Regions from separate parts of the Homo sapiens genome. Here region 1 is linked to region 2. The links are contacts of gene promoters, found by promoter capture Hi-C in human tissues and cell types (Jung and others, 2019). All regions are on one chromosome and are shown on one strand. The core of a region is centred on a gene start or on the middle of the fragment in contact, and the rest is flanking DNA. Distances in the headings are between cores, read along the strand shown.

Region 1 (4,862 bases), core at 1,463-3,962, 1.1 Mb after region 2:
CCCTCCAAATCTCAGGTTGAAATCTCAGGTTGATCCTCATTTTGGAAGTGGGGCCTACTAGAAGGTGTTTGGGTGATGGGGGAGGATCCCTCATTAATGGCTGGGTGCCATTCTCACAGGATTAAGTGAGTTCTCACTCTTAGTTCCTGTGAGACCTGGTTATTAAAAAGAGTCTGGGTTGGGCACATTGACTCATGCCTGTAATCTCAGCACTTTGGGAGGCTGATGCAGGAGGCTCACTTGAGACCAGGAGTTCAAGACCAGCCTGGACAACATGGTGAAATCCCAACTCTACAAAAAATACAAATATTAGCCAGGTGTGGTGGTGTGCACCTATAGTGCCAGCTAATCAGGAGGTTGAGGTGGAGGTGGAAGGATAGCTTGAGCCCAGGAGGCTAAGACTGCAGTGAACCATGATCATGCCACTGCACTCCAGCCTGGGTGACAGAGCGAGACCCTGTCTGAAAAAAATATCTAAATAAATAAAAGAGTCTGGAACCTTCCTCCCTTTTCTCTCTCTCTCTTCCTCTCTCACCTCCTCTCTCACCGTGTGACATGCTGGCTCCTCCTTGGCCTTCTGTCATGATTGGAAGCTTTCTGAGTTCCTCTCCAGAAGCAGATCTGGTGCCATGCTTCTTGTACAGCCTGCAGAGTTGTGAGCCAGATAAACCTCTTTCTCTATAAATTACCCAGCCTCAGGTATTCCTTTAGAGCAACGGCAAAATGAATTGAGACAACTGCGATATGGAAAAGGTGAGAAATCTGGCCTATAATCATTCATTTATTCAATAACTATTTGAGCACATGCTATGTGCCAAGAACTGTACTCAATGCTAGTAATACAAAGATGGGGAGAAACAAACATCAAGGAGGAAAAGACATGTAAAACACATACCTCACAATGTCATAAGTGCAGCAGTCAAAACAGGTACAGGGGGAAGTGTGCTTTGGGAGGTCAGGGAAGGCTTCCTGGAGGAGGTGACTCTTCAACTGAGTTTACAGAGAAAAGTAAAAGATTTCCAGAAAGATGAGGGGGGCAAGAAACTACAGATAGAGGCATCAGCAGAGGCACAAAGGCATAAAAAGGGATATGGGTGAGGAAATAATGTGATTCCATATTGCTAGGATAGAAGGTGGTGAGGTGGGGGGTAGTGGTAGAGGAGGTGGACAGGTGCGCAGAAGCCAGTGAGGATGGGCTTAGACTGTTGATCTTCATCCTATCAGCAAGCTGGGAAGTGAACTTACAGTTTTTATCTGTTATTCCAATGACCTAAACTAAAACCTGGGGTAAGGCTATAAATTACAGAGAAAAAACTACTGGGTCAGTACAAGAAGAAACATTTTAGTTAGCTACAGCTACAAAGCTAAGAAGTTGTTTTACAGACTCTTGATCTTCACGAGTAGCAGACAGAGATATTTGTTAGAGATATAATAAAATTTGTTAGAGATATAATAAAAAGCATTCTCAGGAAAACCTTTATGAGGAAAACTTTAAAACACTCCTGATTGAACAATTCTAAAAAAAATATTTTACTTTCTTTACTTTTTCTTCTTGCCTTCAAATTTAATTTACAGGAAAAACATATTTTCTTTTTGGATAGACAACATAGTATTATATCTTAAAAACTCAGTAGTCCCTAAATTAATTTAAAAGTGAACGCAATCACAATAAAAATATCAACAAGCTTTTTTAAAATAATGGAGCTAGATAAGTTGATACTAAAGTTTATATGGCAAAAGAATCATAAAATAGCTGGAAAACCCAAAAGAGAAAAGCTATGAGGGTGGACTAGCCCCAGCAGAGAGTAAAACATACTATTAAGCTTCCATAATTAAAATGGATATGTAGCCAGGTGCAGTGGCTCACACCTGTAATCCCAACACTTTGGGAGGCTGAGGCAGGTGGATTGCTTGAGCCCAGGAATTCAAGAGCAGCCAGGGCAACATGGCAAAACCCTGTCTCTATAAAAATACAAAAATTGGCTGGGCATGGTGGTGCGTGCCTGTAGTCCCAGCTACTAGGGAGACTGAAGTGAGAGGATCACTTGAGCCCAGGAGGTCGAGGTGGCAGTGAGCAGAGATCATGCCACTGCACTCCAGCCTGAACAACAGAGTGAGACCTTGTGTCAAAAAACAAAAATAAAAAATAAAGTGGATATGCATATTGAAGTATGGGGGGGGGGAGTGTTGTAATGTCTTCAACTTTCTTTGAAATGCATGAAAAAATAAGATGAATTGATGGATGAATAGAGAGATAAGAGATGGATAAGTATGTGACAAAGCAAATGTAATGAAGTGTTCACTGTAGAATACAGACAGATACATGGGTTTCACTGTAAAATTCTTTCAACTTTGTGTATGTTTGTTATAGTAAAATGTTTTTTTTAAACTGGTGCCAAAAAAATAAAAACAACGTGAAACCAGCATAAGAATAAATCACAGGGAAATGTAATGAACAAACTGCAAAAACAGTCCAAAGTACACATGGAAATCTAATATTTGATACAGGTGGTATCTCAAATCATTTAGAGAAGAGATGAACATTTTATCAAATGACTTAAGGACAACTTCATAACCATTTGGAAAAAGATTGATTTAGATGCATATCTCACACCATAAACAAGGAAAAACTTAAAAAGGATCAGAGACCTAAAATTAAAAAACGAAACCAAATACTACATGAAAACATGGGTGAATTTCTCTACAAACTCCAGGTAGGGAAAAGCTTCCTAACTATGACTCAAAATCCAGATGCAATAAAGGAAAAGGTCTATAAATTTTACTATACTGAAATATACTTTCATGTGACAAAAAATATCATAACCAAAGCCGAAAAAGAAAATGTTCATAACATATAACAGATAAAGGGCCAATATCCTAATATATTTTTAACTCTTAAAAATTGAGAGGGACTAATGCCAGAAACCCAGAAAAAAATAAGTAAAAGACATGAACAGAAAACTTAAACAAAAATATATTAAACTTCATCCATAATTTTTTGATGCAAACTATAACTACCCCGAGATACCATTTCTCACATATCAGATTGACGGAAATTTAGAAGCTTGACAACATATTGTCAAGGCTGGAGGCAAATACAAGTTCTTATTCATTGCTAGTGGGAATGCAAACTGGTTCAGCTCTTGTAGAGGAGAATTTGGCAAATTTTTAAAAATTACATGTGCATTTGCCTAGCAATCTCATTTCTAGACCTTTAACTTGATGATACACCTCCAAACTATATGAAAATACATATATACAAGGTTATACATTGCAACTTTATTTGTAATTGCAATATATTGGAAACAATCTAAATGCCTATAGGAGAGAACATGGTTGAATAAATTATGGAACATCTGCAACTGTTTAAGAAAAAAAAGTGAGGGTCAGGCACGGTGGCTCACGCCTGTAATCTCAGCACTTTGGGAGGCCCAGGTGGGCAGATCATGAGGTCAGAGTTCGAGACTAGTCTGGCCAACATGGTGAAACCTCATCTCTACTAAAGATACAAAAAAAAAAAATTAGCCGGGCATGGTGGCATGCACCTGTAATCCCAGCACTTTGGGAGGCCAAGGCAGGTAGATCATGAGGTCAGGAGATCGAGACCATCCTGGCTAACACAGTGACACCCCTCATCTACTAAAAATAAAAAAATTAGCCGGGGGTGGTGGCGGGCGCCTGTAGTCCCAGCTACTCTGGAGGCTGAGGCAGGAGAATGGCGTGAACCCAGCAGGCGGAGCTTGCAGTGAGCCGAGATCGCGCCACTGCACTCCAGCCTGGGCTGCAGAGCAAGACTCCGTCTCAAAAAAAAAAATTAGCCAAGCATGATGGCATGCACCTGTAATCCCAGCTACTCAGGAGGCTGAGGCAGGAGAATCAGTTGAACTCAGGAGGCAGAGCTTGCAGTGAGCCGAGATTGCGCCAGCCTGGGTGACAGGGCGAGACTCCGTCTCAAAAAAAAAAAAAAGAAAAAGAAAAAGTGAGGAAGATCTGTATGAACTGATACGGGATGATTTCCAAGATCACTTGGTAGGAACTGTGATTTTTTTTTTCTTTTGAGACAGAGTCTTGCTCTGTCACCCAGGGTAGAGTGCAGTGGCGCAATCTTGGCTGGCCACAACCTCCACTACCTGGGTTCAAGTGATTCTCCTGCCTCAGCCTCCCAAGTAGCTGGGATTACAGGTGCATGCCACCAAACCCAGCTGATATTTGTATTTTTAGTAGAGATGGGGTTTCACCATATTGGCCAGGCAGGTCTCAAACTCCTGACCTCAAGTGATCCTCCCGTCTCGGCCTCCCAAAGTGCTGGGATTACAGGCGTGAACCACGGTGCCCGGCCAGAACTGTGATCCTAGCTGAGGGACAGCCAGCTAATGGTGACCCTACAGGAAGGGAACTTGGGGGAATAAATGACCTGATATTACTCTCCTTCCATCCTCCATTCTTCGGCACATTCTCATTGGCACAACCCAAACAGAAGACAGAAAGTAAGAGCAGACCATAAAGGTCAGCCTCCCAGATTAGGTAAGGGTGGAAAGTGGGTTTGGAGGATTAAACAGATCACCAGCACATAGGGTAACTTTTCCTCTTGCTAGACATTTAGTTTGCATCTGATTCTTCACTATTACAAATAGTGAACACCCTTACCCAGCAAATGTTTAACTGGGGGAGGGGCCCTGATTTGTGGTGTTTTCCACGGTATTCAGTATATGGTGTGAATACAGGGACATATACACAGTGAACTATGTCACTATTAGCAAGCTACCATTGTGAAATCACTGGATGAGGAGCTGGGAAGAGGTGTGCTCAGTTGGTTCTCATAGTCGATCAAGCCATCACCTACACACGGTTGTGTGTCCTCA
Region 2 (4,565 bases), core at 233-2,732:
ACTCATCAAACGGTAGTGTTAACATGGTTCTCTAATCTTAAATTACCTGAAAAAATGCCAGCACAATATTTAAAGAGTTTTCATTTTTAAAGTTTATACACTTAAAACATATTTAATTATTTAATCATAAGATTACAAAAACACGTGAAAAAGACTGATTCTGGGCCTGATTTTTTAACATTAAATATAATTTTGAGTTTGTGAAGATAAGTAATTATGAAGACATTGATGCATTCAATAGGATTATTTATATGAGCAAATTATCAAAAGAAAATAAAAATGAAACATATAATTATTGTGATATCATTACCATCTACATTTCTCTTTGCCTTTAAACTGGATTTTAATACCCCCAAAAAAGATTGTGGAATTCAAGCAAATGCAAAACATGAAATTGCAATGCAGAATTTCATTAATTCCAATTCCCCTGAGCACAAAATGAGAAGATAAACCAGTTTTTAAAATGGACTATCTCTCCATTAGCTGACAAATTTGTGTTCTTTTTTTAAAACAAACAAACAAACAAACAAAACCTTAACTTTATTTGCTGTATCACACAACTGTGAATTTAGATAAGTGGGTGTGGGAATATACAAATTTAAAGAAAAGATTATAATCAGAGTCAATTTTTCAACTGATTTTTTCTGATCAGTAAAGAATTATGTAAAAGGGCACTATTTTCCCAGGCTTCAAAAAGAAAAGGGGATTAGGCTAATTTGGAATAAACTCTATAAATAAATTTAAAACATAAAAATCACTAGCAATTTCTTTTAATTAAAAAAAATAGAGACTGATTTTATTTACATTTAAATTTTTTCCAAATAGAATTGTCTGTTTACTGCTGTTCAAATCATCCTGGACAAAAACCACTCTCGTAGTGTTTTTGTTCTACGAGCCATAGAAGTCTCCCTCTAGCTAATATCTGACAGGAACGGTCCAAGGATTCTGACTGCAATTGTGCACGTGTGTTCAGAATCCCAAATGAAAGGGGAAAATAATTTGTGTTTCAAATGCATTTTGGTTTTTGTCTGGTGAAGCAGCAAGTATTTTCATCTAAAGTCTTCAAACAAATAGGCACATTAAAGCAGAGACTTTTCAATTTAACAATCTCCAGCCCCCTCAACACACACATATACACACGAACACATACACAAACTCTTAGTAATGTCCACATACTTGCAGTGTTACATAATAGCAGTGAAAGTATGTGATAATTACATCATAAGAATGAAATATGATAAGTTATAGATGGCAAAGAGCATATAAATACTATAAGACAGTGACACTGTATCTTTAAATACTTGCATGCAAAGCCAGCATCAATTGAAGTATATCTTTATTTATATTACCTTAGGTTTTAATTTCATTCAATAATCAGTTTTCATTTTGGGTCTTCCAAATCTTTTCAGGCTGAGTGTCGCATCGTCTCCTGGAGTCTCTAGATCTGTGTATATCTGCACTATCTCATTGATCTCTAAAAAGTGACATTGATGCCAACTGCCAGAGCTGGTACCCATGCCATCTGCTAGTGACGTCACAGGGCAGAGAGAGCCATGTGATCCTCTCTCTTGGGACCTTCATTCTGCACTGATCATCTGGCATCCCTGTAAGTGGGTACCAGCCTTCATGCATCAACACAGAAGGTTAGACTGATAGGAAAAAAATCTGCACCAGCATTTCACGTACAGTAGGTGCATTTCTCCTCGAACTGCTTCGGTTTCACTGGCAATCTGTAGAAATAGCTGTGTTAGTGTTCAGTTTCGCCCTGCCAAAGGTGCAAGTATTAGGTGATCGTTAATATTCCATTCATTTACAAGGTGGGCTTTTGTGTGAGCAAGAGGTTTTTTTTGTTGTTGATGATGTTGTTTTGTAAAGATCACCATCCCATTTGTGCACCTGGGTACCCAGGGAAAGAAAGCCGTGAAAAGGAGCTGGAAACTGGTCTTAAGACGTTTAACCAAACTAAGATTTGTGTAAGTGAACAGGGGTCAAAAAAGGTCTCCTTTGCTTGTTTTGTTTCACAGCGTGTAACTTATGAGTGTGTGTCTCTGTGTTCTCTTATTAACATGTAAGACTTCTGTGCTTCTTAGGCATTTGGAATAAAAGAACAGCTTCTCCATCTGGGGTCTGTGAAAGACATCCTCAAATACTCCCCTTCCTACACTTGCTGGTATCTTTCACCAACTTTTGCAGAGACACTGCAAGTCCGTTGTTAAGGATTTCAAACTACATACTTTGTCCTCTGCAGAAAGTCACTAACTTCACTCTTTTATTGTCCCTTATCTCTTCCCAGCGTTAACTTGCTTGTTCCCTCTCATTTCATTTCAGACACAATAAACATAAAAATTATCACTTAGGTGTTTGTCTTCCTCTCCCTGACATTCTGCTGAGTATTTTAATCAAAGATTAGCTTTCCTGTTTTTGTTTTTTTTTCTTTTTTTTTGACTTTCAGATTTTTTTCTTTCTCTTAAAAATCTTGTCCTCACATTTTTCTCTAGACCAACATCAATTTAAATATCTTCTTGTTCTTGTATCAGTGTCCAGTTGTTTTTCCCTGTCAGGTGTATTTCAGATTTATCTTTTTTCCCCGCTCCACACTTTTGGTTTCTTCTTAACAAAAGCAGGGTGGAAACAGTTAAGCAAAGCTGGCAAAGCCTTATAGATAATACGAACTGTGGAGGCAGAGACAAACTCCACCTTCCTCCTGTTTTCTCTTCTCCCGTGCCCCCACCCCTATAAAGGACATTTGATTTCAGGATTGCCTGCCAGTAAAGTAAAAAGTGCACTTAAAAAAAATAAGTAAAAGTTTTAAAATAAACAAATAAACGCAACCTTTGTTGTTTGGCAACTGAGTAATCTCTTTCTATAAAGTGAGAGAGTATGCTTTTGGTATTAAAGTAATCCCTGCAGAGCTGTAACTGTTGAATCTGTGTTAGCATTCCCCTTATAAATCCCAGTTTTGCAAGGTTTAGAATTCTGCTGCTTTAATGCACTTTGGATCCAAATTGGCACCAAGGGCCTCACACTAAATTCAATTTTGCTTCTGTCATACCCCACTCATTTCCACCTTCTTCAAAAAGTTGCTTGACTTTTCCTGGACAGTTCTAGAAATGTTGGGGAAGCTGGCAAAAAGGAGAATCAAATATGTAAAAGCAGATAATTTTTCTCTCTTAATGGCCCAGTAAAAAATGCAAATTTAAAATAAGAGTCAGGCTATAAACTCCTAAGTTAAAATAGGTAGGTTGGCCTAGCTTCTGTTTTTTAAAAAGCCAGATATACCATAGCCATTGTAAAATTTGTTGTTTAAGAATATATTACTTGGTAATGGGTGCATTGAGTATATTTCAGATGGCTTTTAATTCAAGAAGTACACACAGTTTTTATATTAGCATAGAGAATTTCTATAGGAAGGCCAGTTGCAGAATTTTGTTGGTCTCCCATATGATTTAATTTTTAAATGTAAAGGAGCGTAAGTATCAGAGTCATGAGCCACAAAGCAGCCAGTGCTGTCTTGAATTTTGTATATTGCACCATATTCTAAACTTGCAAAGTCTCCAAAAGCTGCATTGTATTAAAGGCATCACAAACATGAAAATCAAAATCCAAGGAATAGATGACATGATATGCCAGTAGAAAATTACCATGGATGTACTTCATTGAAAGGGTAGATTTTATATTTTATCTTGGCATTTGCAGAAAAATGAGAAGCAATTTATCGATAAAAACATTTGAGGCTGTGCTATTCCTGCCTTTGAACACGAAAGAAAAACCTTTGGTGCTGACGGGGTGGAGGAACAGAATTAGTGTTCAGGTTTTCTGACTATTAATCTATTGTTTGGATGCTTTAGTCTTTTGTTTTTTTTCAAAAAAAAGGTGGGGGTAATAAAAAGTTGTTATGTCAAGATTTAGCAAGAATTAAGTGTGTTTGTACAATAATCTTTCAAAAGAAATTTTGTTATGCATTTTCTACTATAGTTCCAGATATGCAAATGCCTGTGCTGTTAATATGCATTCATAACATACACCATAAGGGCTGTTCTACTCTCTGCTAAGAAAGCATGTTAACACCAATACTCCAAACAGAAATACATTCTGACTTATAGATGAATATGCAGAGTATGAGAAGTGTATTATCACCATTTCTATAATGTAGTTTCTCATTTTACAACAACTACTGCATACCAAAGTTCATATCTCTAACTCATTTTGGTATTAATTTAATTGATATGATTTTTGCTTCTGGGGCCATGCAATTTTATATTTTTTAAAACGTGTCCAATGTCTGTCTGTCTGCCTATCTCTTGCTTTCACTGGGTAAATGCTCATATTTCACTCATAAAAATGAGCCACGGAAAATTTAGATATAATTTTGACTCTGTTGTAAGACAATAAAAACCAAAAGTCCCAATTAAGGCTCGAGTGTTGTTGTTTTTTATGTCATCCTGTTGGTGCCTGTGTCTTAGCAAGTGGGAATTCTATTGACTCCCTTTTTCACAGTCCTCTCATCATTTGAGATCAGTTTGAAACATGACAGGCATTTTTCTCAATTCTCCAAGGGTATAAGG

Evidence for each region. Contacts are between HindIII fragments. The study calls those that stand out against the background at their distance.
Region 1: a fragment that was not itself captured here is called in contact with the fragment with the promoter of NEUROD6 in region 2 in 1 of the 25 tissues and cell types used here (hippocampus).

What each region holds. Positions count from the first base shown.
Region 1 is chr7:32,394,350-32,399,211 of GRCh38, forward strand. It overlaps a transcript of PDE1C not described here. Among named protein-coding and RNA genes, the nearest start is that of LSM5, 94 kb to the right of the region's middle. The HindIII fragment of the contact is 5,072 bases long and covers 177-4,862 here.
Region 2 is chr7:31,339,244-31,343,808 of GRCh38, forward strand. NEUROD6 (neuronal differentiation 6) reads right to left here and starts at 1,483. Exons shown (of 2, transcript NM_022728.4): 1 at 1,350-1,483; 2 at 1-46. The coding sequence starts at 25. The HindIII fragment of the contact is 16,561 bases long and covers 1-4,565 here.